5 separate regions of the Homo sapiens genome follow, and all the other regions are linked to region 4. Evidence: promoter capture Hi-C in 16 types of primary human blood cells and fetal thymus (Javierre and others, 2016). All regions are on one chromosome and are shown on one strand. Each heading gives the region's core, a stretch centred on a gene start or on the middle of the fragment in contact. The rest is flanking DNA. Distances are from core to core; before and after follow the strand shown.

The links. Contacts are between HindIII fragments. The CHiCAGO score rates a contact against its expected background, and 5 or more counts as called.
Region 1: a contact is called between a fragment that was not itself captured here and the fragment with the promoter of INTS14 in region 4, in 5 of 17 cell types (total B cells, total CD8 T cells, fetal thymus and 2 more). The highest score is 5.8, in total B cells.
Region 2: a contact is called between a fragment that was not itself captured here and the fragment with the promoter of INTS14 in region 4, in 1 of 17 cell types (megakaryocytes). The highest score is 5.1, in megakaryocytes.
Region 3: the fragment with the promoter of PDCD7 here is called in contact with the fragment with the promoter of INTS14 in region 4 in 6 of 17 cell types (naive CD8 T cells, M0 macrophages, naive CD4 T cells and 3 more); the score reaches 8.7 in naive CD8 T cells.
Region 5: a fragment that was not itself captured here is called in contact with the fragment with the promoter of INTS14 in region 4 in 1 of 17 cell types (endothelial precursors); the score reaches 5.9 in endothelial precursors.

Annotation. Positions count from the first base shown.
Region 1 is chr15:65,886,143-65,889,513 of GRCh38, forward strand. RAB11A (RAB11A, member RAS oncogene family) reads left to right here. Exons shown (of 5, transcript NM_004663.5): 5 at 1,559-3,371. The coding sequence ends at 1,698. Among named protein-coding and RNA genes, the nearest start is that of RAB11A, 18 kb to the left of the region's middle. The HindIII fragment of the contact is 7,470 bases long and covers 1-3,371 here.
Region 2 is chr15:65,926,766-65,929,919 of GRCh38, forward strand. MEGF11 (multiple EGF like domains 11) reads right to left here. Exons shown (of 26, transcript NM_001385028.1): 12 at 2,955-3,118; 13 at 1,660-1,762. Among named protein-coding and RNA genes, the nearest start is that of RAB11A, 59 kb to the left of the region's middle. The HindIII fragment of the contact is 1,725 bases long and covers 849-2,573 here.
Region 3 is chr15:65,132,466-65,135,819 of GRCh38, forward strand. PDCD7 (programmed cell death 7) reads right to left here and starts at 1,343. Exons shown (of 5, transcript NM_005707.2): 1 at 447-1,343. The coding sequence starts at 1,316. RefSeq lists silencers at 569-968, 1,029-1,238 and an enhancer at 1,529-1,628. The HindIII fragment of the contact is 3,462 bases long and covers 1-2,095 here.
Region 4 is chr15:65,609,166-65,612,410 of GRCh38, forward strand. INTS14 (integrator complex subunit 14) reads right to left here and starts at 1,966. Exons shown (of 12, transcript NM_001394796.1): 1 at 1,933-1,966. It also overlaps a transcript of SLC24A1 not described here. RefSeq lists an enhancer at 1,884-2,043. The HindIII fragment of the contact is 5,572 bases long and covers 1-3,245 here.
Region 5 is chr15:65,906,436-65,909,538 of GRCh38, forward strand. MEGF11 (multiple EGF like domains 11) reads right to left here. Exons shown (of 26, transcript NM_001385028.1): 23 at 2,599-2,700. Among named protein-coding and RNA genes, the nearest start is that of RAB11A, 38 kb to the left of the region's middle. The HindIII fragment of the contact is 1,643 bases long and covers 512-2,154 here.

The DNA.
Region 1 (3,371 bases), core at 649-3,148, 280 kb after region 4:
TGAGGCTTCTTTAGTTCAGCATATCAAAACGCCATTTTGGAGTATGGGTTTCTGAGCCTTAACAGATGGAATTGTTTTGTATCTGGGATGTTGAATAAAGTAGCCACAGGTTACTATTGAGCACTTGAAATGTGGCTAGTTAGATGAGGAATTGGATTTTAAATTTTATTTAATTAAAATAGATGGCTACTCTCTTGGATAGCACAAATTTAGAACATTTATCCCCATCTCAGTCTGGATTTATCTCATTATTTCCTCATGATTAAATTAGTTTTAAATATTTTTGTCAGGAATACATGGTGTCCTTTATAGGAATACATTGTGTCTTTCCTAGTACATCGTATTAGGAGGCTAATTGTGTTAATTTGACACATTTTTAGAATTATCTTGCTTTTTGAGAGTAGTGTTTTTGGAGGGACAACTGGGAGAGTAAACAAAAATAAGGTACATTCTCTGTTCTTAAGGACTTTATAATCTAGTCACAGGGAACAACTTTTAGGCAGTGCAGTATAAGACCAAACGTGTTACATACAGATACTTATTGTGGAGGAATTTAGTGACATTCATGCGGTTATTTATTTATCACAACACATGTTATATGTTGCAGTACAGCAGTAAGACAGACACAGTTTTGATCCTTACAGAGTTTAACACTTAGTAAAAGAGGCAGACACTAAATTATTTTTGATAAGTGTCATGAAATAAAAATAGAGTTTACATATAACATCTTAAGTTGCCTATTTTGTATCATTCTTTAATTACAATTTAAGTTTTGTTCAGGAGGTCACTGATAAACACATTATCTTTTTTTCCCTTCCAAGAATCGTTTGGGATTTTAGCATGTTTGTTAAGATGTACTCTGCCGAATGCGTCTGATAGTGCAAATTTATTTATTTTTTGTGTGGTACAATGTCATTGTGTGTAGGCAATTTTTGTTTGTTTGTTTGTTTTTTGGGGTAAAGGTAGACTGAAAATACTCTTATGGTTTACTTTGAATCTAAGTCCATAAACAATGTAATGCTATTGGCTTACCTCTTTTTTTTTTTTTTGAGACCGAGTCTTGCTCTGTTGTCTAGGCTGGAGTGCAGTGGCACGATCTCATCTCACGACAACCTCCGCCTCCCGGGTTCAAGTGATTCTCCTGCCTCAGCCTCCCGAGTAGCTGGGATTACAGGCACCCACCATCATGCTTGGCTAATTTTTGTATTTTTGTAGAGACAGGGTTTCACCATGTTGGTCAGGCTGGTCTTGAACTCCTGACCTCAGGTGATCTGCCTGGCCTGGTTTACCTCTTTAAACAAAGATTTATTTGACTGGTGAACCTTTCCCTCTGACATGGAAAAACCTTTGTTTCTTTTCTTACCCAAAGGGCAATTGTTAAAATAAAGGGTTGAATCTAATCAGTGGCTGTTTGAAAATAAAACTTTAAATTTATGTATTCTCTGTTCAGTTTCCTTAGGGACTTTGATGCAAATATATCTCCTACCTTTATGTATCTTTTATCCTAACTATGATAGGTTTATTCACACTAAGTATTGTGGTTTCTTTTTTCCTTCAGAGATTTACCGCATTGTTTCTCAGAAGCAAATGTCAGACAGACGCGAAAATGACATGTCTCCAAGCAACAATGTGGTTCCTATTCATGTTCCACCAACCACTGAAAACAAGCCAAAGGTGCAGTGCTGTCAGAACATCTAAGGCATTTCTCTTCTCCCCTAGAAGGCTGTGTATAGTCCATTTCCCAGGTCTGAGATTTAAATATATTTGTAATTCTTGTGTCACTTTTGTGTTTTATTACTTCATACTTATGAATTTTTCCATGTCCTAAGTCTTTTGATTTTAGCTTTATAAAATCATCCACTTGTCCCGAATGACTGCAGCTTTTTTTCATGCTATGGCTTCACTAGCCTTAGTTTAATAAACTGAATGTTTGGATTCCTCAGTTATTGTTTACTTTTCATCATGGAAGCCTGTCACTGTATGTAGGACATAATAGAACTTGATCACTTGAAGCTCAGACCTATTGGTCTTGATCAAATCAAACTAAGAAGACCTTAGAAATAAGCTACCATTTTGCCACAGAGCAGCTTATAGGTAATACACTCTTCTCTCAGTGCAGTGTACATTTCCACAAATCTAAGAATTGCCCTATAAACATAGCAGGATTTTGAGAGCTTGAAAATTTTCCATTATTCTGGACATGAATTTCTAAAATGCCTTAATAGGTTTATGTAGTTGAGTAAATTTTGTTTTTTAATTTTTGTAAGCATCAAAGTTGATTAGAGAGGGGGGCACTTTTTCTGGAGAATTCTCTTAGTAAACACAAAAGATTGTTACGGTTTCATTAGTAGTATGGTTGTGGGGCCATAAGTTAAACAGTGCTGCCTGGTAGGCTGGGAACTGAAGAGACTTGTGGTATTCCATCTCGGGTGCCTCTGTTGGCAATGATCAGGCAGCCCAAAAGATTTAAATGATCTATAATAATTTCCAAGCGGTAGATTATGTGGCATTTTATTGCTCAGGCAATAATTGGTTTAATGCTGGTAGTGTCAAATTTTGAAGTGTTAATTTTGTCTTAGAACCTTCCAGTAAGTGAAATACAACCTAGTTTTATCACCATATCCACCAGCAGGCATGGATAATTATTTTAACAATGCTAATATTTGAGTTTTGCAGTATATTATAGAATATAGTCCAGTTAAATCTTTGGTTTCAGTATGTCTGAAGAGTACAGTGAGAGGTTAATTTCTGCTCAAGTGGTACCACTTAAAGGCATGTATTCTTTTAGTATGTAAAATGAAATAGTACCTTGAGTTTAAATAGAATGCATTTAGGCATTGTAGAGATCTGAAATAGTTTTCTTCCACTACATTGTTGAAATCAATGAAGCAATTAGTTTCTCATTCAGAAATGTGCACACTAATATTTAGTTTTGCTTTCTCGTGGATAATATTAAGCACTTACTCTGCAGTTTCCTGGAAGTTGTGTCAACTGCAGTGATACTATTCAGGATGGTGGGAAATCCCCAAAAATATGTATGTGTGGGCTTGCTTAGATTACTATATTTCATAGTTAATCTTTTGTCTCTTGCGGTGCTCATGATGTGTGGGGCACACGGAAGGCATTGCTGTAGTCAGTCATTTTGGTTTTCTTCTATAGCCATTTTATTATTTTAGTGTATTAGTTATGAAGATAATATTATCTATTTGTAAATTGCTACTTTGTATTTTATGCATGCTCTGTAATTTGATTTTTTTTTAGTTATTGATTTGGATTATATTCACATTCTAATAAACAGTTATAGGGGGATTATTTCTTATGCTGTCAGATTACATTTTTCCTTTGAGTGCTTTGGGTGCAGCCGTGGAATC
Region 2 (3,154 bases), core at 461-2,960, 320 kb after region 4:
GAATTTTTAAGCACTAGATGTCATTAAAATCTTAATTGGCTCACTCAAAATTAAGGCAATGAAAAATTAAAGTTGATTTCCACTTGGCTCCTGCTGAGATTCTAGGGTGCCAGTGACCAGGGTTGAGCCTTATTCTTTACTGACGGGCAGGAGCCAGCAGGGCAGGGGAAGCCAGGCTGGAGATACTGCAGAGGAAGCAATGTCCCTGGCTCTTGGCTGCTTAGAAACTTTCTGGTTATGAACACAGGCTGTGCAGCAACCTGGTGTTAATTATTTATCTGAGAACCTATACTGCCAGAAATGACTATATTTCTTTCTCTTTGCTGCTCATCACCTTGGGACTGGCTAGTAGGTTCACTTCTGAAATGCTTATTAAGCACTTCCTGTATTCATGGCCTGCTTTTACTGAGCACTTACTATGTGCCAGGCACTGTTAGCACTTTATAGGTAGTAACTCATTTAAGCTTCAAAACAACCCTGTAGTTGCAAGGATAATTATCTGTATTTTATGGATGGAGAGTTCAGGCCCTGAGAGGTTAAATGACTTGCCCAAGGTCATAAACCCCAGCAGTCTTGCTCCAGAGCTGGGTTCTTAACTACCGTGTTATCCATATCTCAGTGTGTGGCAGGCAGTGGATACAATGGTGAATAAGGCAGATGCCTCCATATAGCTGATGGCCACATTAGGGAGGCAGATAATAAACAGTTACCACAGTTGTCATTGAACTCTGATTTAAGTACCACAATAGGAAAAGTGTAGGGTAGAAGAATTAATAAAGGGAGTGCTTTTGTCTTGGTCAGGTTGGGGTGGGTATTGTAGCAGGGGAAGTGCCTTCCCAGAGGAAGAAAGCTTTACATTGAAATCTGGTAGACAAGGAGTTATCAGGTGAAAAGGGGAAGGAATGATCCAGGCAGAGGGAATGGCATGTGCAAAGGCCTGGAGTCAGGAAGGTGGTTGGCTTCCTGAAGAAGTAGACTGCAGCCCTGGTGGCTGGAATGTAGTGAGCCACAAAGTGAACAGAGTGAGGTGGAGTCAGGCAGAGCCAGATCCCGTGGGCCCTGGGCCATGGTAAGGATTTAAAATTTTATGTAAGAGTCGTGGGAAGCCACTGAGGCATTCTGAACAGGGACTGAAATGGCAGATCTGGGTTTGAAAAGTTGACTCTGGCCACCAGGTGCAGAATGAATGCAGCTGGGCAAGAGCGGAGGCCAAGGCAGTGCCAGATGCGGGATGGTACCCAGCAGACCGTGTGGTGGCAGTGGGATGGAGAGAAGTAGATGGATTCACCTTGTATTTAGGAGGCAGGCTGACAGGATAGATATAAGGACCAGGATTCTGAGACTGGACTAAGGAGAAAGGCCCTTGTCCCCTTCTCCATCATATTCTCTAGATTGAGCACTTACACCAACCATATGTCAGCTTTTGACCTACTGGAGTGACTCCAGTGCCTTGGACAGAGCTTATACCTAATAGATGTTCAATAAATATTTACTTGAATTAAATGGAATGGAGAACTGGAACCCAGAGCAGATAAAGGGAAAGATGCATACTCAGGGATCAAGAAGAGAGGTATTGAAGAAGAAAACGGTCAAGAGAAGTAGGATACCAAGAACCCAGTTTCACAGTACCTGGGTGGTGGCACAGCAAGGGAAGGTTACCTGTCCATCCGGCCAGGCAGCAGCAGTGGCCTGTGACGGGGTCACATCCATCAGCATGGCTGCAGTCACAGTGTTCACTGCAGTTCAGCCCAAATGTGCCATCCTGTGGAGAAGACAGGGAGAGAAAAATGATCAGACCCAAACCTCCAGAGGTTTGTGTACTTCTATGGATCTTTTCTTTAATTTTTACTTTTGGAGGGTCCAGTGAGATCTACTGGATCTTGATGACAAAACTGAGCCAGAACCCCACAGAGATGCAGGGAGACTGGGGCTGGGGCACAATGGGGACACGTTTTGTAAGTGGGGATAACACAGCCATGAAGACACTCTGAAGAATTATTTGGCTGCATTAACAGGAGTATGAGGTTGAGAAGGAGGTGATACTCCTGCTCTACTTCTCAGTGGTCAAGCTCAAAGGCCTGTAATGATCATTAACTAAAACTGTAAATGAAAGTGCACTTTGCAGATTGTAACACATTGATCATCTGTGAGGAATGACTATGATTTATTCTTTGTTGCCGGGGAAGAAGGTAGTCACCAATTCTTATATGCTCATTAGGTATCAAGAGCCTCATATACTTAATTTTTCTTAATCCTCACAGCAATTCCATGATATGATTCCATTGTATTCCCACTTTAAAGATGAGAAACAAGGTTAGAGAGGTGAAGTAACATGCTCAAGGTAACAAAGGATGTGACAAAGCCAAGATTTGAACCCAGGATTGCAGGACTCCAAATTGCTCATTAAGGACTGCATTGCTCATCCAGCAATATCATATCAGTGGGTTTAACTTATTTGTATCTCAGACCTATAAGATGAAGTGATTAAGTCTGGGTGGTTATTATTGAACAGTGCTTGCTTTAGTCACCACACACTCTGATCATAAAAGTACAGACTGTTGGAACCAGAAGGAAGCTTAAACATTATCTACCAACGAATGGCAACTCTCATGGATTAGTAAGGGCTGTCTTGTAGCACTGGGTTGTGAAGGAATCTGAAGCTGCATTTGAGCTCAAGTGCCAGAGTCAATAATGTTTACCAAGAGCAGCACGGGAAAAGTGATGCCATGTCACCACATCTGCCAAGTATTTGCCATTTTATAGACGAGGGGGATGAGGGCCAAAGTAGTAAAATAGCCACAGAGAGGTTAGGACTAGGACTGTGACCTAAATCCAAGTGTCCCATCACCTAGCTTAGTGCTGTTCTCTGTGCACTCTTGTGGACGAACTAACACCAGGGAAAGGGCGTGAGGGGATGCGGAGCCCAACCTGTCCCTCCCCACCCTGGCACTCACCGGGCAAGGCAGCTCACAGGTGTCTCCCAGCCAGCCAGGAGTGCAGGAGCAGGAGCCGTCTATGGGGCTGCAGGCTGCCCCATTGGCACAGGTGCAGCTCTCGTTGCAGTTCAGGCCCCACGTCCCACTGGGACATGGCAGGGTGCAGTCCAGGCCCTGCCACCCTGAGGGGAGGGAAAGGGACTGTCACTTCTCCATCC
Region 3 (3,354 bases), core at 93-2,592, 480 kb before region 4:
GGTCTTGAACTCCTGACCTCGTGATCCACCCGCCTCCGCCTCCCAAAGTGCTGGGATTACAGGCGTGGGCCACCGCGCCCGGCCTGTATTTTGTATTCTTAAAACCACCTAGGGCAGTACAAGACACAAGGAACTAGACACTTACTGGTTTTGAGAGTAAGTGGACAATGTTGGAGCAGGATAGGGGAGACCTGTCATTCGTGCAGTGCCACCGTGTAATCCTATACTTTGTGTTTACAGGATTTTACAGTGCACCTGGAACTTTTGTGTACCACACATCATTAACACAAAATTAACATGGTGGTATGAGCTGGGAAGGTTAGCTATCGCTTCATTTTGCGCGTAAAACAGAGGCTTAGCCCTGGGAAATGGAAGTTTAAAGCCTCCTGCTGCTCCAGGTTCCAACCACCACCACTCCTACCCCCATGAGCGGCCGCTGCTCTCACCCGCTTCTTCTCCTCCACCTCCTGCACACACTTCACCCTCCAGCGGTCAATCTCCTGCTCGCGTTCCACTGCCCGCGCGGCCTCTGCCTCCCGCTCGGCCTCGCGTTCCCGGGCCCTCTCGCGAAGCCGCAGCCGGCGGCGCCGGACCCTCTCCAGCCTCCTCCGCGCCTCGCCCACATAGGCAGCCTGGGTCAACGGCTGTAGCCGCTCGGCCAGTTCCGCGCGCAGCGGCGCGGTCTGGGAGTACAGCAGGACCCAGGCCGCGCCGTCGGCTTCGGCCTCGCGCAGGGCCTGGCTCAGGCCGCGCAGCCGCCGCACCAGGCGCAGAGCCCGGAGCAATCGCGCGCGCACTTCGCCAAGGCTGGGCCCGGCATGCGTGCGCTGGGGCACCGGACAGCCTGCCCGCCGCGGGGTCCCGAACACCGCCTCCAGCCACTGCCGGTCGCGCAGGCGTTGGAGGGCCGCATCCCCGAGCACGTCGGCCGGCGGCGGCGGCGCCTCAGGCCACCGCGGGCTCCAGGGCGGCCCCGGGCCGGGAGGCGGTGGCCGCGGCCGCTCGCCGGCGTCGGTCCCCGGGAAGGGCCGACACTGGGGCGGCGGAGGAGGCAGCGGCGGTGGTGGCACCGGGTAGAAGGCGCCAGCGCCGCCTCCGCCGCGGGAGGCCTCCGCGGAGGCTCGGGGCTGCAGAGCCAGCGGAGGCTGAAGGAAGGGGGCGGAGGCCCCCGGAAAAGGGCCGGGCCGCTGGGGGAGAGGCGGCGGGAAAGCCGGGGAGGGCAGCGGCGGTGGCGGACAGCCGAAAGGAGCAGGAGGCGGCGGCTGCGGGGGCGGTGGGCCTGGGCGACCCTGGCCGAAGAATGGTGGCAGGGCCATGTTCACGACGGAGATGCTTTGAGAAGTGACAGGAATCTGAGTGGCTCCTCATGAGAACCTTCCGACGGAAGTGACGTCGTTACGACGCGCGACCCCTGTAGACTCGTCCCTCCGGAAGGCTCAGTGCATAAGTGGGCAGTCGTTCAACCTTCTGTCGTTCAGTTCATAAATACCGTTCTTATTGAGCATCCTAGGTGCAGAGCTACCCACTCCGCATACAGTGAGACTGAGAGATACAGAGCTTCTCTTCGTGGAACTATCTGCCTAGTATAACACACTAATCAATTAATCATGGTGAGTATCTTCGAGAAGTTGGAGAAGGTTATCCTAAGAAACTGCGGCTGCAGCTGAGATCTGGAAGATAAATAGTTAAATAGAAAAAGAGAGGGAAGCACAGTGCAGATGAGAACATGTGCAAAGGCCCTAGTAAATAGGAGTGTGACCAACTACCCATTTTCTTAGAAAAATGAATTATTTTTACTTTTCTCCTTTCACCCCACCTCCTATTTAGCTCTTTAGGAATGCAATTATAGGGTGGGTGCTGTGGCTCACGTCTGTAATCCCAGCACTTTGGGAGGCCGAGGCAGGCGAGATCGGCCTGTAGTCCCAGCCATTGGGGAGGCTGAGGTGGGAGGATCACCTGAGCCCTGGGAGGTAAAGACTGCAATGAGCCACGATAACGCCACTGCACTCCACCCTGGGCGACAGAATGACACCTGTCAAAAAAAAAAATCCAATTAACCTTTACCTTCTCTCCACCAGACACTCTCTACACTGTAAGCTTATCTAATTATGTGTTCGCTTATTAGTTCCAAGGACCGAAGCTTAAACCAGGGACCTCTGGAACTTTCCCATACCAGGGGATTGCCTGGGGACAACTGTCAATTTACAACCTAGCTCCCCGCTACCCCCCACCCCCCCTCCGCCTTCGCCCCAGCCTCCATGGCGCCAACCAGATCACTGATGGATACATAGGAGCAAGTCCCATAGACCCAGCACCTCCTTGGTCCCTCCCCACCCCTTGCATGCCATCCAGGTCAACCAAGTCCCGTGCACCCCCCACTTTTTTTGAGACAGAGTCCCTCTGTCACCCAGGCTGGAGTGCAATGACGCACTCTCCACTCACTGCAACCACTGCATCCCAGGTTCCAGTTATTCTTGGTGCCTCAGCCTCCCTAGTCAGTTGCTGGGATTATAGACCCCTGCTGCCACGCCTGGCTAATTTTTGTGTTTTTAGTAGAGAGGGGGTTTCACAATGCTGGCTAGGCTGGTCGTAAACTCCTTACATCAGGTGATCCGTCCACCTTGGCCTCCCAAAGTGCTGGGGTTACAGGTGTGAGCCACCACACCTGGCCACTTTCTTTCTTTTTTTTTTTTTATGAGACAGAGTCTCCCTGTGTCGCCCAGGCTGGAGTGCAGTGGCGTGATCTTGGCTCATTGTAAGCTCTGCCTCCTGGGTTCATGCCATTCTTCTGCCTCAGCCTCCCGAGTAGCTGGGATTACAGGTGCCCACCACCATGCCTGGCTAATTTTTTTGTATTTTTAGTGGAGATGGGGTTTCACCATGTTAGCCAGGATGGTCTCGATCTCCTGACCTCATGATCCGCCTGCCTTGGATCATGTTGGGATTACAGGCGTGAGCCACCGTGCCCGTGGCAGTCACTTTCTTTTTACCATTCTCTTACTTGTTATTTGAATTTGCAAGCTGCAGGGAACTGGACCTGCCTTAGGTTACAGGACTATGTCTAGTGGGAAGCCTGATAGAATGCCAGTTTTGGCCTGTAATCCCAGCACTTTGGGAGGCCGAGGCGGGTGGATTGCCTGAGCTCAGGAGTTCAAGGCCAGCCTGGGCAATATGGTGAATTCCTGTCTCTACTAAAACACAAAAATTAGCCAGGTGTGGTGGTGCGTGCCCGTAATCCCAGCTACTGGGGAGGCTGAGGCAGGAGAATTGCTTTAACCCAGGACGTGGAGGTTGCAGTGAGCCGAGATCACACCACTGAACTCCAGTCTGGGAGACAGAGCGAGACCTTGTCTC
Region 4 (3,245 bases), core at 716-3,215:
GCTGGTCTCGAACTTCTGACCTCGTGATCCACCTGCCTCTGCCTCCCAAAGTGCTGGGATTACAGGCGTGAGCCACCGCGCCCAGCCAAAATTCCATTTGTAAGTAGGCTGTTTCGAACTCAGAATACACTGGTTCATGGAAACAATGTTTACAACTCAGGTTGTAAGCATAGGCGTAAAAGAAGAAACTGAAAGTTCCTGAAGGATGGTTCACTCAAGCAGTATAGGCCCGACTGAAAAAAAAAAAGTGAGGTCCTGCACAATATTGGTTCAACTACACTATATTAGACCATAACATACGCTCACTAAGGGCAGGGACCATGCCACATTTTGCCCATGATGTCTCCTCAAAACTTATCACAGTAACTGGCACATAGTAGGTGCCCAACAATTTGATAACAACTGATGAACTACCCCTAAATCACCAGATATACCATATATTATTTAGCAAAATACATTATAAATGTTAACTCTGGACACCAGAAACACATTTCCTCTTCTCCTCATTCAAGCAGACATATGGGGGACTCCCTCACGTCTGCCCAGCTCCTGTGGTAGTCCCATTCATGCAGGGAGGCCTTTTTACAAGTTGAGGATCATGAGGAGTACTGCCCTCACCTCTTAGGAGAATGGGAGGAAACAGTTTACACAGACTTAGATCAAATACAAAAAAGCACTTTCAGCCCGTGAAATCTGCTGTTGACAGTGATGACAGCTGGCAGTCTTGCCTTCTCTGAAGACACCTCTGGAGCTGGCTCTTTCTCCCAAGTGATGCATTTGTGTCGACTCCCAAATGCACCTCATTAACAGTTACAAAGTCGTGGGAGATCAATTTAGTACTCAGGTTGGAGTAAAGGAGGGAACTGAAAGTTCCTGAAGGATAGTTCACTCAAGCAGTATAGGCCTGATTAAAAAAAAAAAAGGCCAGGCACGCCTTTAATCCCAGCACTTTGGGAGGCTGAGGCGGGCAGATCACCCGAGGTCAGGAGTTCGAGACCAGTCTGACCAACATGGTGAAACCCCATCTCTACTAAAAATACAAAAATTAGCCAGATGTGGTGGCGTGCGCCTGTGGTTCTAGTACTTGGGAGGCTGAAATAGGAGAATTGCTTGAACCCAGGAGGCAGAGGTTGCAGTGAGCCGAGATCGCGCCACTGCTCTTCAGCCTGGGCGACAGAGCGAGACTCCGTCTTGGGTGGGGGGGAATCCCTGCCCACCACAGTCTACCAATTTTGTGAGCACAACACTATGTATTCCTCACTTGGGTGGATTCTGAGCCCCCAAGTCTCCCACCCCCACCCCCTTCCCACGTGTACTGTTCAAACAACTAGGGCTCTTCTTTCTCAGGAACAGTCTGAGAAATAGGCCCTAGCCACCTATTTGGCCTTGAATACCAAGTGTCCATCAGCTAGACGTTTGTAATTCTTCCCTGAAGGTGATAATTAGCTCATTCATAAAGAACTGATTCTCAGCAGTCTCGCTCTCAAAGCAGGATTCTACCTGAATTTCTAGTGCCTCACCTGCTCTTTGGCTTTCCCGTCAGCCTCCGGGAGTCCCTCCCCAGTTCTCAGATATAATTTCATCTCTAAAAGTCCAGACTGAAAATCACATCTGGGAGATGTATTTTTACCTTAAAAATCAGTCAAGAAAATGTGGGATCTGGAAGTCTCTCTTGGAAAGAGGGGGCAGAGGGGAGCTGAGCAGAGGGCGAAATCGTGCAGTTTACGCGGAGCTGGGGACCCCGAGCCTCAGAGCGAGGGGAGGCCGGGAGCAGCGCCCCGGAACTGGCGCCTCACAGACAGCGCGGGGCGGCCGCCACGGTGGCGGGAAGGCCAAGCGCTGGCCCTGGGTTGTTCTTCACCCATAACCCCTTCACCTGTAACCCCAACAAGCAGCGAAAGGCAGTCCCGGGCCCTCGGCCTCCCCACTCACCCCGTGCCCATCGCCGGACACAGTCCGTCGGCATAAACTTTCCGTCGGCATAAACTTTCCGTCCGCGCGCCACAGCCGGAACTATAAGGCCGCGCGACAGAAGGGAATCCGGCGCCTGCACTCCGCGCTGGGCGGGGCGGTCCTTGGAGAGCTTCAGGGTCGCCCGGGCAGGGTTCTGGCTCATCCCGGAGGGACGCTAGGGGGCGCGGCCTCTCTTCGCGATGGCCAATCCGCGGCCACCCCTCTCCTCCCACAAATCCCCAACTTCTCTCGAGCCTTGGCTGGGTTTCCTGCCGTGTCTCTCTGCATTGCCCTGAATCTCTCCCCATTCTCGGGCTCTTTCCTTCCCCTTCTGCCCCACTGACCCATGGGCCTCACCTGGCCCGGTGACTCTGTGTCCGCTTCACACTTTTGTCCCCTCACTCCCCTGGGCCCCGTCGGTGCACGAGCCCAACCCTTCCTGCTATTTTCCTCGTCACTCTTTAGCCCCCTCTCTCGTATCCTCTGAACCGGTTGACAGAATCCTCTTCCTGTTCTTTTTAAACTGCAATTCCTGAACTACAAATCCTGGCCGGGCGTGGTGGTTCAGGCCTGTAATCCCAGCACTTTGGGAGGCCAAGGTGGGCGGATCGCTTCAGGTCAGGAGTTTGAGACCAGCCTGGGAAACATGGTGAAACCCCGCTCTCTACTAAAATACAAAAATTAGCCGGGCATGGTAACGAGTGCCTGTAATCCCAGCTACTTGGGAGGCTAACGCACGAGAATCTTGGGGGGAAAAACCCCAAAACTGTAATTCCTGGCTGAGGTATGCTTTGTATATCCTTCTTAGCTGACCTGAGCCCAATTTACCTCAAGACTTGGCCTCTTGGTCTCCTCAGCCCAAATGCTCACTTTATTTCCCCTATCCCCTCTTTGAGGGAAGCAGAGGGCCCTCGTTCCTCTCACCCTGGACAAGGCATGCGTGCTCAGATTTCCCTGTAAGGCAACATGGGCTCTTGCCTGCCACTCTGGCCACCTGGTGTCTCCATTGTAGTCTGTGCCTCAGTGAGGTCCTTAAGAGGGCAAGAGGTGACTTTCTTTCTAACCATGTAGGGAGCCAGGGAATCCCAGCTAGAGATAGGCTTAGATGGATGCCAGCAGGCCCCTGGGTAGTTACGGTTCAAAGAACAATGTGGAACCACATAGGTTACAAAGTGAGTACAGAAAGGCCTCTAGAAGGCCTCAGGCATTTGCCTTTTTCTTTTAGCTGATAGGATGGGGCGAGATTAGGAGATGGGACGAGGAAGGAGGATGCTTTGAACTGAACAGACAAA
Region 5 (3,103 bases), core at 83-2,582, 300 kb after region 4:
GGGGAGTGTCTTTCAGGAAGGAATAAAAGGCTGTTCTGATGCCATTCCCTGCAGGTGAAACTCCAGGCTCCAAGGGTATAGGATAAGGAATGAAGCAGAACCAGTTCTTGGCTTGAGGGAAAGTTGTATGACATTACAAATCACAGTTCTGTTGGAATTTGGCATGGGTTTGAAGACAGTATTTATCACCTCTCAGCTCTGGTCCTGTCTGTCCTCTCCTGGATCCAAGGCTTATCTGAGGGTAGCCAGAGAGAAACAGAGGGAGACAGGTGGCTGAGGTTCTTGATTAGTCATCTTTGTAGGATGTACAGACATTCCCTCCCATAGCCAGTTCTCTTAGTTACTCATTTTTTGGGGTGTGCCATTTGCACATAATGTAGAATTGTTTTTGAAAAGTATTACCAGTGTTTTCAGCCCCAAGGATTTCTTTCTACCTTTCGGCTGTCAGTTTTTTCCTAGGCTCCAACAATGCATGATGGCCCTGAGCCTCAGCCAGAGGCTTCAGGGACTAAGCTTGGGTTCTTTGCTGCTGGTGATCCCAGAAAAGAAATTGTTTGGCATTTCTAGGTTGGGACAGTAATGACTCTGGCTCAAAGTCAGAGCAATTTTTTCTTCTAGCTTTTAACTGAGGACACAGCACCAAGCAAGGCCTGCAGCAAGTACTTACTAAAATACAGTTTGACTCTCCTTGACTCTTCCCAGTTTCTGACACTGAAGACCACCCTGTTGCTATCGCTCCTCTACGTAGAGTTCCCATGTTGAATTTGAAAGCGTCTACTCCTATCTGCCTACGTTCCACATATTACTGAGAGATATGGCAGAACCAGGCCCAAGTTTTTCTTTTAAGTTTGCTATTTTTCTTTTTTTCTTTTTTTTTGAGATGGAGTCTCGCTGTGTCACCCAGGCTGGAGTGCAGTGGCGCAATCTCTGTTCACTACAACCTCCACCTTCCAGGTTCAATCGATTCTCCTGTCTCAACCTCCTGAGTAGCTGGGACTACAGGCATGCACCACCACTCCCAGCTAATTTTTTTGTATTTTTAACAGATGGGGTTTTACCATGTTGGCCAGGCTGGTCTTGAACTCCTGACGTCACGTGATCTGCCTGCCTCAGCCTCCCAAAGTGCTGGGATTACAGACGTGAGCCACCGTACCCAGCCTCAAATTTGCTGTTTTTTCTGAGAGGCTTATAGGTACCTGTGTCCTTCAGAATCATGCCTGCAACTGCCTATATGCTGGCATTAGTTCAGCACTTTATGCCAGACAAGGGCTTCCTTTGCCCTTCCTGAGGGAAGCTGGCTAGGGTATTAACTTTTCCTTTTTACAGAACAGGGAACAGGCCCAAAGAGCAACAGTGGCTTGTCCAAAACCACACTAGCAAGTGAGAAGCTGAGTTACAGTTAGAGCCCAGATCTCTCCAAGTATTCTCTCTCACTGGATACCAGCCTGCCTGGGTGTAAGACAAATGCCAGCGCATGGCGCTCTGGCTACGCTAGTTGAAGAGTGAGATCTGTAAAGCAGGGAGAAATCTGGCCTAGTTCAGAGGATACTCCCTTGTAGAAAGAGATACAGGGTGGTGGTGGTGGGGCTGTGTGTGTGTGTATATGCTGGAATGGGAGAGATTGTAGTTGGTGGGGTTATTAAATGCCCTAGATACTGTCCAGGGGACCCACAGCTAATAACACAGCCTCCTGAGTATAGGCCCAGGGTCCATGCAGCCCATGCCTGCTCAGTGGGCAGATGAATTCAGAACATTCACCCTTCCTGGTATTACTGGACCCAGGGACCTGCAGGGATTGGTAGAGCAGCTCAGTTTCCTTAGAGTTCTAGAAGCCACCTAGAGCCTGAGGTCAGGCCTAGAGTTGTCTGGTATACCAAGGCCCTGCCCCAGGGTGCCCCAGAGGAGCCACATTGTAGGGAGGCCACATTCTCTGTTCATTCATTGCACTTGTTCCCATGATACCTTCTGTAACTCCTACCCACATGTTCCCATAATCAGGGCTAACTTTCCAAGTCTCTTGTGTGTGTGTCTCCCAAGCCACCAGATTTCAGCCCAGGCTGTACTCAGTACATGAGTACAGGTGATGTTGGTTGATACATCCTGCCCCAGCCTCTCCAGATCCCTGTTTGACAACCCTACCCTGTGATTTGAGAAAGCTTGGCTTGGGCCACTGGGGTTTCTGGAGTCTCTGGGAGACATTGGACTTTATTGGCCAGAGAGCTAACTCCCTGTTATCCACTCCAACAGGGCCCAGAGAACCCCAAAGATGTCGCCATCCCCAAGTCATTTTTGAAAGGTGTAGGATTGTATTTTGTGGCCTGTAGGGAGGGCAGTTTTGTTGTATCTTCTCCACCCTAAATAGCCTGTTTGTTCACATCCACCGTTCACTATGGGAACAGAATGGGTGATGGGGAAGATCCAGACAGGTTTCCATCTTTAGATAGGGGATTGAGCTGGTAGACATGTTGGGAGGGAAGAGGGCTTAAAAGGGAGAGTTCTGGGACCACAGGGTGGGGGTCAAGGTGCAGGGATGGGGATTAGGGCAGGTGCTGGGTCTGGTCTGGCATGAGGGGGTGGAGGGTAGGGCTGGGGTCTGACCTGGTGAGTGTGGCTCAGCGGGGCGGCTGAGGTGTCTAAGTTCAATGTAGAAGTCCTCGGGCGGGTACCTGGCCTCCAGGGCACTGATCTGGAAATGGGAGTCTAGTGAGAGGAATGACAGGGAGGAGCCATTATTCCCAGGGCCCTGGTATAGCAGGGGAAGGGGGTAGGAAGTACACAAGTGGGCCAGGGTCAGGGTGAGGCAGGCTGGGAGGACTTGGGGGCCTCTGTGTATAGCATCCAGAGGGGCCAGGGCCAGCGGGGCCAGGGGCTCTGTTAGAGCCAAGGTCATCTGCCTTGTTTCCCCTCTCCTTCCCTCCCTCCCTCCCTCTGCAGGAATTAGTGCTCCTCCACCAGGGAGGAGGCAGGGGGAAGAAGCCCTTGAAAGGAGCACCTTGGTAGGGCCTGGGTCAAGCAGAGGTTCCTATCCAGATGGTGAGTGTGTCTTTTGCTTCCATCTGGAATCCCTACACCCTGGCCCTGGTTTTCTCCCTTATGGTCCCTG